5 separate regions of the Homo sapiens genome follow, and regions 1, 2, 3 and 5 are each linked to region 4. Evidence: promoter capture Hi-C in 16 types of primary human blood cells and fetal thymus (Javierre and others, 2016). All regions are on one chromosome and are shown on one strand. Each heading gives the region's core, a stretch centred on a gene start or on the middle of the fragment in contact. The rest is flanking DNA. Distances are from core to core; before and after follow the strand shown. Region 1 overlaps TAX1BP1 (Tax1 binding protein 1). Region 2 overlaps JAZF1 (JAZF zinc finger 1). Region 3 overlaps JAZF1 (JAZF zinc finger 1). Region 4 holds the start of HNRNPA2B1 (heterogeneous nuclear ribonucleoprotein A2/B1). Region 5 holds the start of HIBADH (3-hydroxyisobutyrate dehydrogenase).

Region 1 (2,700 bases), core at 170-2,669, 1.6 Mb after region 4:
TCCTGGGCTCAAGTGATCCTTTCCCCGCAGCCTTCCAAATAGCTGGGATTATAGACACAACACCACGCCTGGCTAATTTTTAAAATTTTTTGTAGAGACAGGGTCTCACTATGTTGCCTAGGCTGGTTTTAACTTCCTAGGCTTAAGTGATCCTCCTGTCCCAGCCTCCCAAAGTGCTGGGATTACAGGTGTGAGCCACCGCACCTGGCCTCAGTAGTAGTTTCGATTTTATGGGAGATACTGGTATCAAGTTAAAGATACTGATTGAGAACTGATGTTTTCTGTAGTAACAGAGCAGAGAGGAAGAAAACAGAAATGTGACTGAGGAAAAAGAAGGGCATTTCCAGCAGGAAAATGGTACAGGTTGAACATCCTAAATCTGAAAATCTAAAATCTGAAATGCTTTAAAATCCAAAACTTTTTGAATGCTGACATGATGTGCAAAGGAAATGCTTATTGGAACATTTTATGTTTTGGATTTGGGATGCCCAACCAGTAGGTATAATGCAAATACTCCAAAATCTGACAGATTTAGAAATCCAAAGCACTTCTGGTCTCAAGCATTTCGGATAAGGGATACTGAATCTGTATAAGCAGAGGCTTAGAGGTAGGAATGTTCATGAGAATGAGTAAGTCAGTTTAACTAGAGCATAAGCTTCAGTTAGGGAAGTTGTGGGAGATGAGATTGGAGATAAGTTTCATTCTGTCTATGGACGACCTTCAGTGTTAGAGAGTTTATGGACTTTTTTCTGAAGGACAGTGGGAAGTCTTTGTATATGTATAGGTTGTTTGAAAAAGTATGTTTCAGGAAGATGAATTATTACCTTTTTCCTGCAGACTACTTGTTTATTTCTTATATTTTTTCATTTTTTTAAAGCCAAAAGACTGTGACTTTCCCTTCAAATCCAAACAATCAGTTCTAACCATTTTACTGCTTACATATTTCTAAATCCTTAATATCACTAGTTCATGCCTTCCATATTTTTTACCAAGACTATTGCAATAGGTCAGCTGTTTTACCCACTTTCATTCTTGTCCTCTAACCTTTGTTTTTTAACTGCTCTATATAAGCTGTAAAATGGAAACCTGAACATGTCTTTCTGTTGTTTGAAACTCTTCATTGGTTCTTCATCATCTGTAGAATAATGCCAAGACCAAATAACCTAGAGCCATACAGGGCTCCTGTATAAGATTTTATTTCCAGCTTCAGTTTTGGTCATTCCTGCTGCTGCCTTTTTGCTTTGGTAATGCTAAACTATACTTCTTTCATTGTGCACTTTAAGGATTGTAAGTTTTCTCTCAGCAAAAAAGAAAAAAAAATCTTCTGTTTAATACCCTTTCCATCCTTTTTGCCAGCATAAAACTTTAAAACTCAATAGGAAGTTCAGGCATGTAGTAAAGATTTCAGGTAATACAGGAAGGCTCAAGGAAGAAAATAATCATGCTTAACACTTTTACCTACTGTTAACTATTGTTAACATATTGGTATATAGCTACATGTAATAAAATTACAAATAATTATACACATGCATAATGTGTGTATAATAAATATATACACACATACTACTGATGCATCATAGTGTGTGTATATATTCGTTGAACCAGTTTCTTACTATTGGAATTTACATTGTTGCTAAATGCTTATCATTAATACTTAATAAAGATCTCTACCTATCTTTATTTTGTCTACTTATTTCATAAGGTAAGTTCTTGGAAGTAGAATCACCATGTTTATGGCATTGTTTGTTTTTAAGCACTTTATGTGTACTGCAAATTGCCCTCTAGAGTGATTTTGATAGACACCATATTGACAAGCAGGCAGGAAGAGAGTGCCTGGGTAGCAATTGTAAGGGAGGAGGAATGAAGATGGGAAAGTAGTATGCTTGAGAAAGTGTTAAGGAATTTGATTTGCCTGGGACAGCTATCAATTAAAAATTTATTATTATTATTTTTTTAGAGACTGGGTTTTGCCATGTTGCCCGGGCTGGTCTCGAACTCCTGGGCTCAAGCGATCCACCCGCCTCAGCCTAAATAAGTGCTGGGATTGCAGGCGTGAACCACCATGCCCAGCTACAGATACCAGTTTTAGAAGATGAATGGGAAAAGTTAGTTTGGATCATGTTGTAGATTGTTTTAATATTTGAGGGATAGTTTTTAAGTAAGGAGTAATAAAGTTTAGAAGTGAAGCTTAATCTTATAGTGCTGAGTAAGATAAATTGGAATTCGAAAGGAATGGAGGTAAAGAGAACGTTTAGACTATCCTAATTTTCTATGTGAGATAATGAAAGCCTAAAGTGGAGAAGGAAGTAAGTTGTGTGTAATAATCCATAAGTAGAATTCATAGGATATGTCAACAGTCAATTGAATTAGAACTGGCACTCATTCTATGGCATCTCAGTAAGGAGGAGCAAGGTCATATGTTAAAAGTTGGGGAGGGCTTGAGTATAGATAATTGGTCTTGCTACTGTGGAATAATGTCATAGGGAATCGGAGTGGCTTAACCAGAAGATTACTAAGCAGCAATTTTATGACTTTTTCCAGAGAGATTCAGCATCTGGAGTTGTGTCAAGAGTGCCAGAAGTGGCTGTCATTCAAATTGGGTGTTGGAAAAGGGTGGGAATGGGAAGGGAAGTTAAGAGGACAAAGGATACTATGGTGGTTTTGAGTACATTATTGAAATGATTGACTGATAGTGAAGTC
Region 2 (2,700 bases), core at 54-2,553, 2.0 Mb after region 4:
ATATGGGCACACCTGGCAGCAAAGCCGGCCCTGGCTACCCCGGGCATTTTCCTGGCTGTTCTTTGCTCTGTGTCCTGGCTTCCTCCTGCGTCGCATGGGACTAACACTGCATAATGCATATTAAAGCAACTAGCCAGTAGGTACTGTGAAAGGAAAATCAATCTCGGGATCCCCCCAAATAATAAATAATAGTATTACTATCTCATATAAATAAGACTGTAAGAGCTGCCCAAGTTTGAAAAGCTCAAGTTAGTGAGATCAGGAGGATTCAAAATCCAATTCTGTATAGCTTCACAGTCCATGCTTCTCACCACCCAGGCCTCTGCCTCCTGTGTACCAAATACCCCTGGCAATTTAACAAGGAAAATCAATTTCCTTTTTAAATCAGCTTTAAAAAGAGTCTCTTTCAGATTCCCTTAATATAAACCATACTGGACTAATTGCATAATGGATATTTGTGTGAATGCCATAAACACATAAACATATAAATATACAGCCCTCATTGATGCAAACCTACAGAAATTAATTTCAAAGATGTTTTTCACTGTCCAAAGTTACCTTTGTAATTTATTTTTTTCACAGCCCAAAGTACTTCTCAATTTTTATTTTCATACCATTTCTGAAAACACGTCTTGGGGACGAGGATAGGATGATGACAAGACCCTGAGTTTCTGGGGGAGGAAACAGTGCACAGGAGGTGACCACACAGTTCAGAGCACACCCCCGCTGGTGCAGCTGTGGGCAGGGGCTACAGGACAGAGAGGGGAAGACCCATTAAAATAATGATATTTATTGAGGTAAAAGAGGCTTTCTGTCCTGAAGAAAAATATTTCTGTTTTATACCAATATAAACAAACACTCTAGTTCATATTTCACTAAGTGTGTTATTTAACTAATATGGTAGCATATTTAACTCCAAAGCGGAAGGCAGTACTTACAGGATGGGGGTAATGTCTACTTCACAGGCTTGCTGTGAGGGCCAATGAAATACTATACAAAAATTATTTAGCACTGTCTGTGGCACATATAGTAATGATTCCCGAATTGGGAGCTCAAGGAATAGACCCAAGTTTTGTGGGCCTGCAGATTCAGACTTTTCTTATGAAAAAAAATTGAATGTTATAAAATGTTTACAAAAGTGATTATCTATTGAGATTAAGAAATCACAACAAATCACAAAATTTTACAAGCCGCAATACCAAAACATCCTAAAATCAGAATCCAGGAAAAGAACCCAGTATGTGTATTAATTAACTTCCTGACACACTGCTATAAATACTTCTTTTGGGCTGTATACTCTGATGAATCCTCATATCACAATGACTTATATTCATATCATTTTCCACAGGGCAGAAAGATGAATCAATCTCCCCTCAAGCATGGGTGATCAAAATTTATTCCTAATTATTGACAATTCAGAAAAGTTACTTTTAGCCTTATAGTTCTTTATTGGCAATGACATATACATTTTTAGGATTGTTGTCAAACCTGTAATCACATCTCTTAATTTTCTTTCACATATGAGCCATAAAAATCCAGGACATTTCAAGTTTTCTCGTGCAATGACTAACTTTAAATATTCTTTTTATCAATGATACTCATTAACCAGTTTGTTGTCAGTATTTTTGGTATCAGGCATATTCATGTCAAATGAACAAGAATCTTAAACACAGAATTCCCATTAAAAATGGTGCATTTCTAATAGTATATTTGTATTATTGAGTATATTCCTAAAAGAAGAGAATTTTCATACTGACTACACTTAGATAAGAACTGAATCCTCCACGTAGAATTTTACACATCTAACAAGTGAAAGAATTCTCCACAGACCTGGCTCCACGCACCATAAACCATCCCACAGCAGATGTCATGGTACCCGTTAACACTGCAATTCTCTCTCTGACCCTCCCCTTTGTGTAAGGACCCCAGGTAAGCTGGCACGGTGGGTGGCGATCCTATGAAGCAACTTCTACACTAGGATGGCTAGGGATAACTTGACACAGAGATGACTGTGAACTGCATAAATACATCCCACTAAACCCAAACAAAATGTGGACCCAATTCGACTTCCCCCTAGCTATATCTCAAAAGCACTTTCAAGTCCAATGTCATCAAACCCAAACAGAAATGTGACAGCAGGGAAGTCAGAATGAGAAAGAAAAACATTAAAGGATTGCTTAAAATCTTCTTCCAATTTTACCAGTTATGATCCCATGAAGGCCCAGCTACGTATACTGCTAGGGCTCCTCCAGGGCCCTGGAAAGTGCTGGGTGGGCCCTGGCAATATATTCAAAAACGGCAAGGAATGCGTTGTACAAGTCAGGGGCCCTGGGGCTGGAGCTTCATTAGCTTCACAATAAATCTGCCTCTGTGGTCCCTATTATTATTCATTATTTATCTCAGTCTGTACATGTCTGGTCTCTCCAAATAAATTTCAAATCCTTAGAGATAGGAAGTACTGTCTTAAGCACTAACATAGGAAATACTCAAAAATGTGTGGCTGTCCTCACTATCCATGGTGATCTTGAAAGAGAGGGAAAAAATGTATAATACAAATGTATACATATACACACATAAATATATACACACATATGGATATACGTACACACATATATGTGGTATGTGTATTAGACATATACATGTATTATTTATATATGTGTTAGATATCCTACATGCCTTTGTGCCTAAAATATATATTTA
Region 3 (2,700 bases), core at 102-2,601, 1.9 Mb after region 4:
AATCTTCTCTTCCATTTTTGTAAACATAGTAAACTTACTTATTTTATGTATTATGTCTGATAAATTCAGTACCTGAAGTCTTTGCAGGTTGATTCTGCTGACTCTTGTTCATAATGATTTATTTTTTGTGTGTGTTTTGAGATTTTTGAATGGGAGCTAATGTATTTTAGGAATTCTGTAACGATTCTTTATGGTCAAATAAAGAATTCCTTCACAAAGAATCTGCATTTGCTTCTGCTAGCTGACAAGAGCAACTACCAACCTGGTACCATTTTAATTAGATTCTAAGCTGAATGTTTTTCTGACCATTCAGCTAGTGTGAATTTCAGCTGTAAATCCACAAGCTGTTCTGTGGTTACAGATTTTCTGAGGAGATTTATTTTTTGCTCCTCCACATAGCTCTAAGGTTCAAGACAGAAAATTTTCCTTGGAGGAGTCTCAGGTTTTTTTCTAGCTTGCCATTACCAAGAGAATATAGCTTAGAGGTACCAGTTCCATGGTGGGAGGAGCCTTTGCTAATTATACAGTTCAACTTGGGTGGGCCTAGAGTTTTCCTTCTGTGGCTCTGGAGGTTGTAAAAACCTAAGAGCAAGTTCAGGGTGAAAGTCCAGAGCCTCCAGAGCTCTCTCTGGGTTTCCAAATTTCACTTGGTATTTAGCATCTGAGCATTTCTTCCTGTCTTGTCACATTGGCAGTACAATTGAAAAAAATCTCTTCCACTGATCCTGCAGGCAGTATGATTTACAATGGTTCAGAATGAGAGCTTTGAAACTAGTGCCTGGGTTCAAATTTCTGCACAGCACTGATTAGCCAGGCAGCCTTGGGAAGTTATTTAAACTCTGCTTTAATATTCCTACTTCTAAAATGGGAACAAGAATAGTACTTGCCTCATACATGGGTTTTTGTAAGGATCAAATGAGTTAGTGCAGTAAAGCACTTAGAATACGGCTGGCCATAGCCAGCATTCAAAAGAAAACAAGGCATTATTATTACTATTACTATTAGATTGTGGTACCATGATGAGACCTTACAATGCAGATGCTGCTTTCTACTCCTTAACATTCTCTCTTGTATGATCACGTTATAAAATCAAGCTCTGCAAAATGTAATTTTATATAAACATTTCTGCCAGTGCACTCATTTTTATGAAACCTCTGTTTAAGAAAGTACACAAAACACATAAATATATGCATAACAATGAATGGCAGACACACTCCGCTGAACACTCCTATTTAACTGCTCTTACCATTTAGGACCAAGAGGGAGTACAATGAAAGTAAAAAGCATTAATCAAAATAACCCAAAGAATAATTTTAATGATGCCTAATGGAGGGATTCAGCTGTTGCCATCAAGTGTAAAGGTGAGCATGTTAATAGCAAAAAGAAATGGCTTTGTTAAACGTGATTATCCCTTGCTCTTACTAAGCCTTATGAGATAGAGCTACACAAATAAGAGCCAGGAGAGTTTTCAGGCCCAGAATGGCCGTATTTACAATGGTGAAAACCCAGTATATTACAAATAATGTAAAAAGACATACACCATGCATACAATCTGAAAGAGCTGGCTTTAGTAAGACAAGTGGGTATTTCTTGATTTTAATATGTGAACATTTTTAAAGTATCAAAATCAATCTTATTATCATGAACACATTTTGCCCAGCCATGAAAATCTTTATTTTTATATTTAGGTTTGATGAATGAACAGCCATACAGAAATGTGATTGGACACAAAGGATCTGGCCTAACGGTGAAGGACGGAGTGGGGAAACCCAGCAAAACCACAGAATTTTTTACTGAGTACTTCAGTTACAAGGTAGAGCGTGAACCCTGCAAGAGAAATGAGCTCCTATTGATTTGTTTATAAATTATCACAACAAAACAAAATGCCCCTGGCTAAACTGGGATCTGGGATTTGGGGTTGTGCCAACCGTCAGGTCATCACTGTTCAACTCCAAATACACCCCTTAATAGCTGCTCTGTGATAATGGACTGGACTCGAAGCATTTCTTCCTTACTCAAAGCCTAAGATTGAGTGAGCTCAATATTAGTTAGTTAGAGTGACCTCAGTGTTAGGCCTTGTCAGTAGAGGGCGCCGCAGGGACACTGTAATGGCTCCAGAGTACTGTGTTTTGACGTTTTCTTGCTGCTGCTTCACTGTCCTTCAGCGGTGCATGTATATAGGGACATCTCTGCTCCAGTCTTGTGTGCAGAGCATGCAGTCCCTTAGTGACTACGCAGCCCTGTCCTGAGGCTGAGTAACCACCTTTCCACAGGCCTCCCACACAGACCCTGCATGCTGCATGCAGGCCTTGTGCCCACCGTGATACTCCAAGTGCCCACCGTGATACTCCAACTCTCCACCAGCCTCAGGTTGCCTGTGCCCCAAAGCCAGCAAACTTCTGTGACATCACAGGGAGCGACATCCACATCCTCTCCAAAGCAGTCTGAACCCAGCCTTGGGGAGTGGCTTCCGAGTGTGTCCTTCCTTGCGTATTTTTCTTCAGCCTTAGGGCACTTATTGAGTTTTCTTTACATCTTTATAGTTACTCTCCTATCTTAGTTTAGTAATTCCTTACACTAAACTTCCTGTTTAAATTCCTTTGTGGTTTTTGTCTCCTCGTTTGACCCAGACTGACACTGTTTAATTCTCATTTCTGAATTCATATAGTCATCTACTCTTTCCTCATCATACACCACTTA
Region 4 (2,700 bases), core at 201-2,700:
TGAGACCTTATGCTTATCAATGTAATGTTCAACCAAGATTGCAAACAAAATGAGAAAAGTAACAAAGTTCAAATACAGAGCGGCCCAGGCCCAAAACAGTTTTGCACATCAATCCATACGCATTACAGGAAGGAGCCTCTGAAGCCATGTTTTAATCGAAGTATAACTAAGGACAAAATCGTTATTTCACTTTCCTCGTAATCATCTATAAAGGTCCATGGATCTGTCCCGTAAGGGTTAAACTTCTCAGTAACAACATTACTTAAAATGAGTCAGCTCTACAACTTAAACGGAATCCTTAAGAACAGTAAAGGATTCTGACGCGAATATCCCTCCCCCGCCCAGAAAACCACCTTCGTCCCTGCCCCTCGTGGCCGATGGCTTCCAATTTATGTTTATTTTGCCGCGGTTCATCTGTCGTTTTACTGACTGCAGACCCAGATAAAACCGTTACTCAAAGGAAAAAAAAGACAGGAAAAACATAAAATGGTTTCTTTGTCCTACGGCTCGCATTGAACCCGGCCCGACGCCCTGGGTGGTGATATCTTCTCTGAAACCGGGCCCGCAAACCCGGAGCACCCCCCCTCCCCGCTCTTCGGTGTGGCTTCCGAACGCAATGGCGCCATTTCATCGAGGGGAAGGCTGAGCGCCTTTAATGAGGTGCGCAGGACTCTAAAGATCCAAGCTCACAAAACACTCCAAATCCACCTCGAAACGATATGAAAACAGCCCGAGAAGAAAAAAAAATAGTTAACCACTTCTACTTCTTGATAGAGAAAGCACACTAAGAAAATAAAAGAGTTATAAGGAAAACGCTGAGAGGAAGGCGAGCCATGAAAATGGCGGCCGCCAAATCCGGTTCCCGGGAGAGAGGGGGAGGGGAAGCTCCGCAGCCTCGCTCACGAGGACCTGCTGCCCGCCGAAACGCTCGCCGAGGAGACGCCGTGGCCCCCGAAGCAGCGTGCTTTAGAAAGGGAATAAGAATTCCCGCCTCCGCGCCCCACTTTCACCCCAGCGGGGCAGCGTCCGCCATGTGAAAGCTCCCCATCCCCCACCCCCAGTGAAGGGAAATGGCGCCGGGAGGCTGAGGGTGGGGAAGCTGTTTGTACGCTCAGGCCTCCGCTCAAGACCCCGTTCATAAACCTTAAGCCCCACTGCTACTGAATTGGTCCGATTTCCTGCCTCTCTCCCACGGAGGCGGCTGGCCGACTTCCACTGAGGCGCCAACGGCCTCGCCATGCCCTTTTCAATAACTCATTGATTTCAAACCCGTTACCTCCATCGCGGACTCAGTCGCTTCAGCCCGATTTCCCGCAGCCGAGCGAGATGAGAGAGATCTCCGCGGACGAACACGAACCGGACTCGTCCTGGCGCTGTAGTGAGAACTGCCGCTGCTCGAGAAACAACTCTGCGAGGAGCACCTCCGCACGGGACCCGGCGCTGCTGCTACTGCCGCTAGAGCCGCTGCCGCCGCTTTTCTAGAACCTTCCCCCCCACTAACGCGTCTTCCGCTACGTCAGGCCGTCGCGTAAACGCCCTATCCGCCGCCAATGGCGGGAAGGCTCTACGCCCCACCTTACGCCAAATGCGTACTCCTCCCACCCTTGCGGCCAGAGACAGTACCCGACGTTACTTCCGTAAATGCGCTCAATGAATTGCGGAAGGCTAGAGTCCTGCTAGTTACTACCTCTTGGAATAGGGTCCCGCCCCCTGCCTTGGCGCAAGGCAGGTGAGAAACGGTCGCGCAGTTTGAAATTAACGCCGACGGGAGGGGCTTAATCCGCAGCCTGGAGATCCAGCCCCCTCAACCCGGGAGGTGGTCCCTGCAGTTACGCCAATGATAACCCCCGCCAGAAAAATCTTAGTAGCCTTCCCTTTTTGTTTTCCGTGCCCCAACTCGGCGGATTGACTCGGCCCCTTCCGGAAACACCCGAATCAACTTCTAGTCAAATTATTGTTCACGCCGCAATGACCCACCCCTGGCCCGCGTCTGTGGAACTGACCCCTGGTGTACAGGAGAGTTCGCTGCTGAAAGTGGTCCCAAAGGGGTACTAGTTTTTAAGCTCCCAACTCCCCCTCCCCCAGCGTCTGGAGGATTCCACACCCTCGCACCGCAGGGGCGAGGAAGTGGGCGGAGTCCGGTTTTGGCGCCAGCCGCTGAGGCTGCCAAGCAGAAAAGCCACCGCTGAGGAGACTCCGGTCACTGTCCTCGCCCCGCCTCCCCCTTCCCTCCCCTTGGGGACCACCGGGCGCCACGCCGCGAACGGTAAGTGCCGCGGTCGTCGGCGCCTCCGCCCTCCCCCTAGGGCCCCAATTCCCAGCGGGCGCGGCGCGCGGCCCCTCCCCCCGCCGGGCGCGCGCCCGCTGCCCCGCCCTTCGTGGCCGCCCGGCGTGGGCGGTGCCACCCCTCCCCCCGGCGGCCCCGCGCGCAGCTCCCGGCTCCCTCCCCCTTCGGATGTGGCTTGAGCTGTAGGCGCGGAGGGCCGGAGACGCTGCAGACCCGCGACCCGGAGCAGCTCGGAGGCGGTGAAGTCGGTGGCTTTCCTTCTCTCTAGCTCTCGCTCGCTGGTGGTGCTTCAGATGCCACACGCGTCCCGGGGGCCCGGTTCTCCGCTCCCCTCCCCTCCCCTTCTCGCCGGACCCCGCGCCGGGAGCTGCGGGAAGGAGTGGAGGGTCGGGCGGTGGCCTCGCGGCTGGCCT
Region 5 (2,700 bases), core at 125-2,624, 1.5 Mb after region 4:
GCCCAGGAGGTCGAGACTGCAGTGAGCAGTGTGACTGGGCCACTGCACTCCAGCCTGGGCGACAGAGACCCTGTCTCAAAAAAAAAAAAAAAAAAAAAAAAGGGCGGGGGGCCAAGGGGCTCAAATCCTAACCCACTATTTTTTTTTTAAGCAAAGATTAGAAAAAATTAATGCCAAGGTTTTTTTTGTTATTAATCCTCAGTATGATCTTGCTAAACGATGCATTGTTACAACTCTCAAACTTTCAGTTTGAGGAAGACAACGGCAGTGCCCCCACAAATCAACCAATTTTTCAATTAAAGAGGAGTCCTGGTGTGATAGAAAGTTAAGGAATTAGGAACAACTGATAACAACTTTCTAGGTCTTGCTGGGAATATCCTGATTCACTCATCCAAGGGGCCTCATGTCCCTCGTGCGGAGTATGAAAGACTGTATTAGATCTCCGTGGATCTTCATCCTGGCTCTAAAAACTGCCTCTTTGTAAGTTCATGGCTAGCTTCCACAATTTACCATGGTATGAGAGGAGGGAGGCAGGATTAATTCTGCCCACAATCTTGAGGACGCTGAACGTGTTTTGGTTCATAATTTGACAAAAATGACATTTTTTTAGGTTACAGTAGAGGGGGGAAGCCCGTCTTGCTGGTCAAGGGTGACTGAAACTTTGCTGAAAGACTTACTGCCTGGCTTGTACAGCCACCGCTTGTGTAATAAGGCCATCCCCTCGGACTCAGGTGGTTAAACATCAGGCCCTGCTGCCCAAGTGTGTCCCCAACCCAAGGTGCACCCTGGGGGCGCTGAAAGACCAGGGGTCGCTGGGGTGAGTGCGGGTTGCTCCTGGAGTTGGGCGCTCCAAACGTCCTCGGAGTCCTAACTCCAAAGCAGCATGCCGGGGTCCCAAATACTCTCTTCTCTTCAGCCCAAGCTCTTCCCCACCTCTTCCTAAATCCCGAAAAGGGCGCTGAACCCGTTCATCAGGAGCCCGGGAGAAAGGGAGGGAAGGCAGAGGGGGGTACTCGCGGAGTGAGTGGCGGCCGCAGAAAAGGACAGGCCTTTAGTACCAGCCAAAATATTGTTTTTTAAGCCCCAGCCCAACCGCAGGGCCTCCCGAGAAAAGACTTCTTCGGCCGTCTGGACAGAAGAAGCGAGCGGCCGAAAGAAGGACAAGGGGGAGGAGGCGTGAGGTCCTTACCCGCTGCAAAGCTGCCGGCTGCCGGCCGCAGCCGCCGGCTCCAGTACCGGAGACCGGAGGCAGCTCCGAGGAGCCGTAAGGAGGCTGCCATGCTGCGCCCGCCCCTCTCCCCGCGGTGACCTCCGCCGCCTCCCGGAGGGCCCACAGACTGCGAGCGTGTGCAGCGGGACTGGCTGGCTCGCCCACGGAGAAGGGCGCGCGCGCACGCGCTCTCACCGCTCGGGGGCGGGTGCCCACGCGCGAGGGAAGGAGCGCGGAGCCGAGAGGAGCGGCCTGACGCGGCAGGGCCTGTCAATCCCTTTACGGACAGGGAAGCAGACCAATCAGAATTCCCAGGTCCGCAGCTGTGCGAAGGACCAATAAGAGGCCTTTTTGAACAGTGACGCCAGGCGCCCTGGCGCTGCCCCCAAGCTCGTGCCTCATTTACAGCCTGCGGGCGGGAGTCTCCTTGTTTACCAAAGCAGAGGGCGTGTGGGAGGCGGGGGCCGTCGCTCGCTCCCGCCTCCTCGGAAACCTTGTCCCCACAACCGCTGCGTGTTAAAAAGGACAAAACTGACTCGCAGCTTGAAAAACACTCAGAAAGCTACCATGTGTGTAATAACTTTTAAATTCATTTGATTTTACTTAACACAACAGTTTCTCAATACTAAAAATAGTAGGAAAAGAAGTTGGTAACATTATCTTTGAAGGGAAGAGTTACTAGAAACTTGCACTTTCTATTTCAAGGCATATTTCTCTAATCTTTGAAAATTCTACACCCTAAATCCATTTTGTAAGCAAAACTAAATATAAAATCCAGAAAGTAGTAGTATATGTATGTGTATTAGAAAGACCTTTTTTTTTTTTGGAGACGGAGTCTCTCTGTCACCCAGGCTGGAGTGCAGTGGCGCGATCTCGGCTCACTGCAATCTCCGCCTCCCGGGTTCAAGTGATTCTCCTGCTTCAGCCTCCGGAGTAGGTGAGGTGGGACTATAGGCCTGCGTGCGCCACCACACCCGGCTAATTTTTTTGGCACTTTGAGTAGAGGCGGGGTGTCGCCATTTTGCCTAGGCTGGTCTCAAACTCCTGGCGTCAAGTGATCCGCCCGCCTCGGCCTCCCAAAGTGCTGGTTATTACAGGCGTGAGCCACTGCGCGGTGCAGAGAGACAGACATTTAGTCATTCTTCTGTCAATGCTTAGTGTACATATTTGAGTCTGTAAACCCCTTGGGGGTAATTGCAGGCCTTCTCATCTCCACTGACTCCACCAAAGGGTTGGAAGCCATGACCACACCAAAGCAAGACTATAGCCTTTGGAGAATGGCAATACAGCAGGAAAGAGAATGTGTATGGAGTAGCTAGGGAAATGCGAACCCCAATCTAAGTAGCACAATCAACAAAATTTGACTTTGACCTTTTTTTCAACTCAGTAACCCATGGAGTTGAAAGCAAAGGAATTGGATCATTTCCATCTGGGCTCTTTTCATGTTTCTGGGCATGCTGGCAACGTTTCCAAAAACTTAAAAACTTGTA

The links. Contacts are between HindIII fragments. The CHiCAGO score rates a contact against its expected background, and 5 or more counts as called.
Region 1: a contact is called between a fragment that was not itself captured here and the fragment with the promoter of HNRNPA2B1 in region 4, in 1 of 17 cell types (neutrophils). The highest score is 7.2, in neutrophils.
Region 2: a contact is called between a fragment that was not itself captured here and the fragment with the promoter of HNRNPA2B1 in region 4, in 1 of 17 cell types (neutrophils). The highest score is 6.0, in neutrophils.
Region 3: a fragment that was not itself captured here is called in contact with the fragment with the promoter of HNRNPA2B1 in region 4 in 1 of 17 cell types (neutrophils); the score reaches 6.5 in neutrophils.
Region 5: the fragment with the promoter of HIBADH here is called in contact with the fragment with the promoter of HNRNPA2B1 in region 4 in 1 of 17 cell types (neutrophils); the score reaches 5.9 in neutrophils.

The regions. Positions count from the first base shown.
Region 1 is chr7:27,749,881-27,752,580 of GRCh38, forward strand. All of the region lies in intron 2 of TAX1BP1 (Tax1 binding protein 1), which reads left to right. Among named protein-coding and RNA genes, the nearest start is that of TAX1BP1-AS1, 11 kb to the left of the region's middle. The HindIII fragment of the contact is 1,532 bases long and covers 654-2,185 here.
Region 2 is chr7:28,170,834-28,173,533 of GRCh38, forward strand. The region is part of intron 1 of JAZF1 (JAZF zinc finger 1); the gene reads right to left. Among named protein-coding and RNA genes, the nearest start is that of JAZF1-AS1, 8.3 kb to the right of the region's middle. The HindIII fragment of the contact is 5,027 bases long and covers 1-2,700 here.
Region 3 is chr7:28,060,233-28,062,932 of GRCh38, forward strand. All of the region lies in intron 1 of JAZF1 (JAZF zinc finger 1), which reads right to left. LOC105375208 (a long non-coding RNA gene) reads left to right here. Exons shown (of 4, transcript XR_001744910.3): 4 at 1,689-1,982. Among named protein-coding and RNA genes, the nearest start is that of JAZF1-AS1, 120 kb to the right of the region's middle. The HindIII fragment of the contact is 2,901 bases long and covers 1-2,700 here.
Region 4 is chr7:26,199,296-26,201,995 of GRCh38, forward strand. It overlaps HNRNPA2B1 (heterogeneous nuclear ribonucleoprotein A2/B1), which reads right to left and starts at 1,451. Exons shown (of 11, transcript NM_002137.4): 1 at 1,277-1,451. The coding sequence starts at 1,282. CBX3 (chromobox 3) reads left to right here and starts at 2,450. Exons shown (of 6, transcript NM_016587.4): 1 at 2,450-2,531. RefSeq lists enhancers at 1-866, 775-894, 867-1,839, 1,005-1,394 and a silencer at 2,335-2,700. The HindIII fragment of the contact is 8,290 bases long and covers 1-2,700 here.
Region 5 is chr7:27,661,509-27,664,208 of GRCh38, forward strand. HIBADH (3-hydroxyisobutyrate dehydrogenase) reads right to left here and starts at 1,375. Exons shown (of 8, transcript NM_152740.4): 1 at 1,190-1,375. The coding sequence starts at 1,280. The region is part of intron 2 of LOC105375211 (a long non-coding RNA gene); the gene reads left to right. RefSeq lists an enhancer at 1,112-1,929 and a silencer at 1,145-1,564. The HindIII fragment of the contact is 13,796 bases long and covers 1-2,700 here.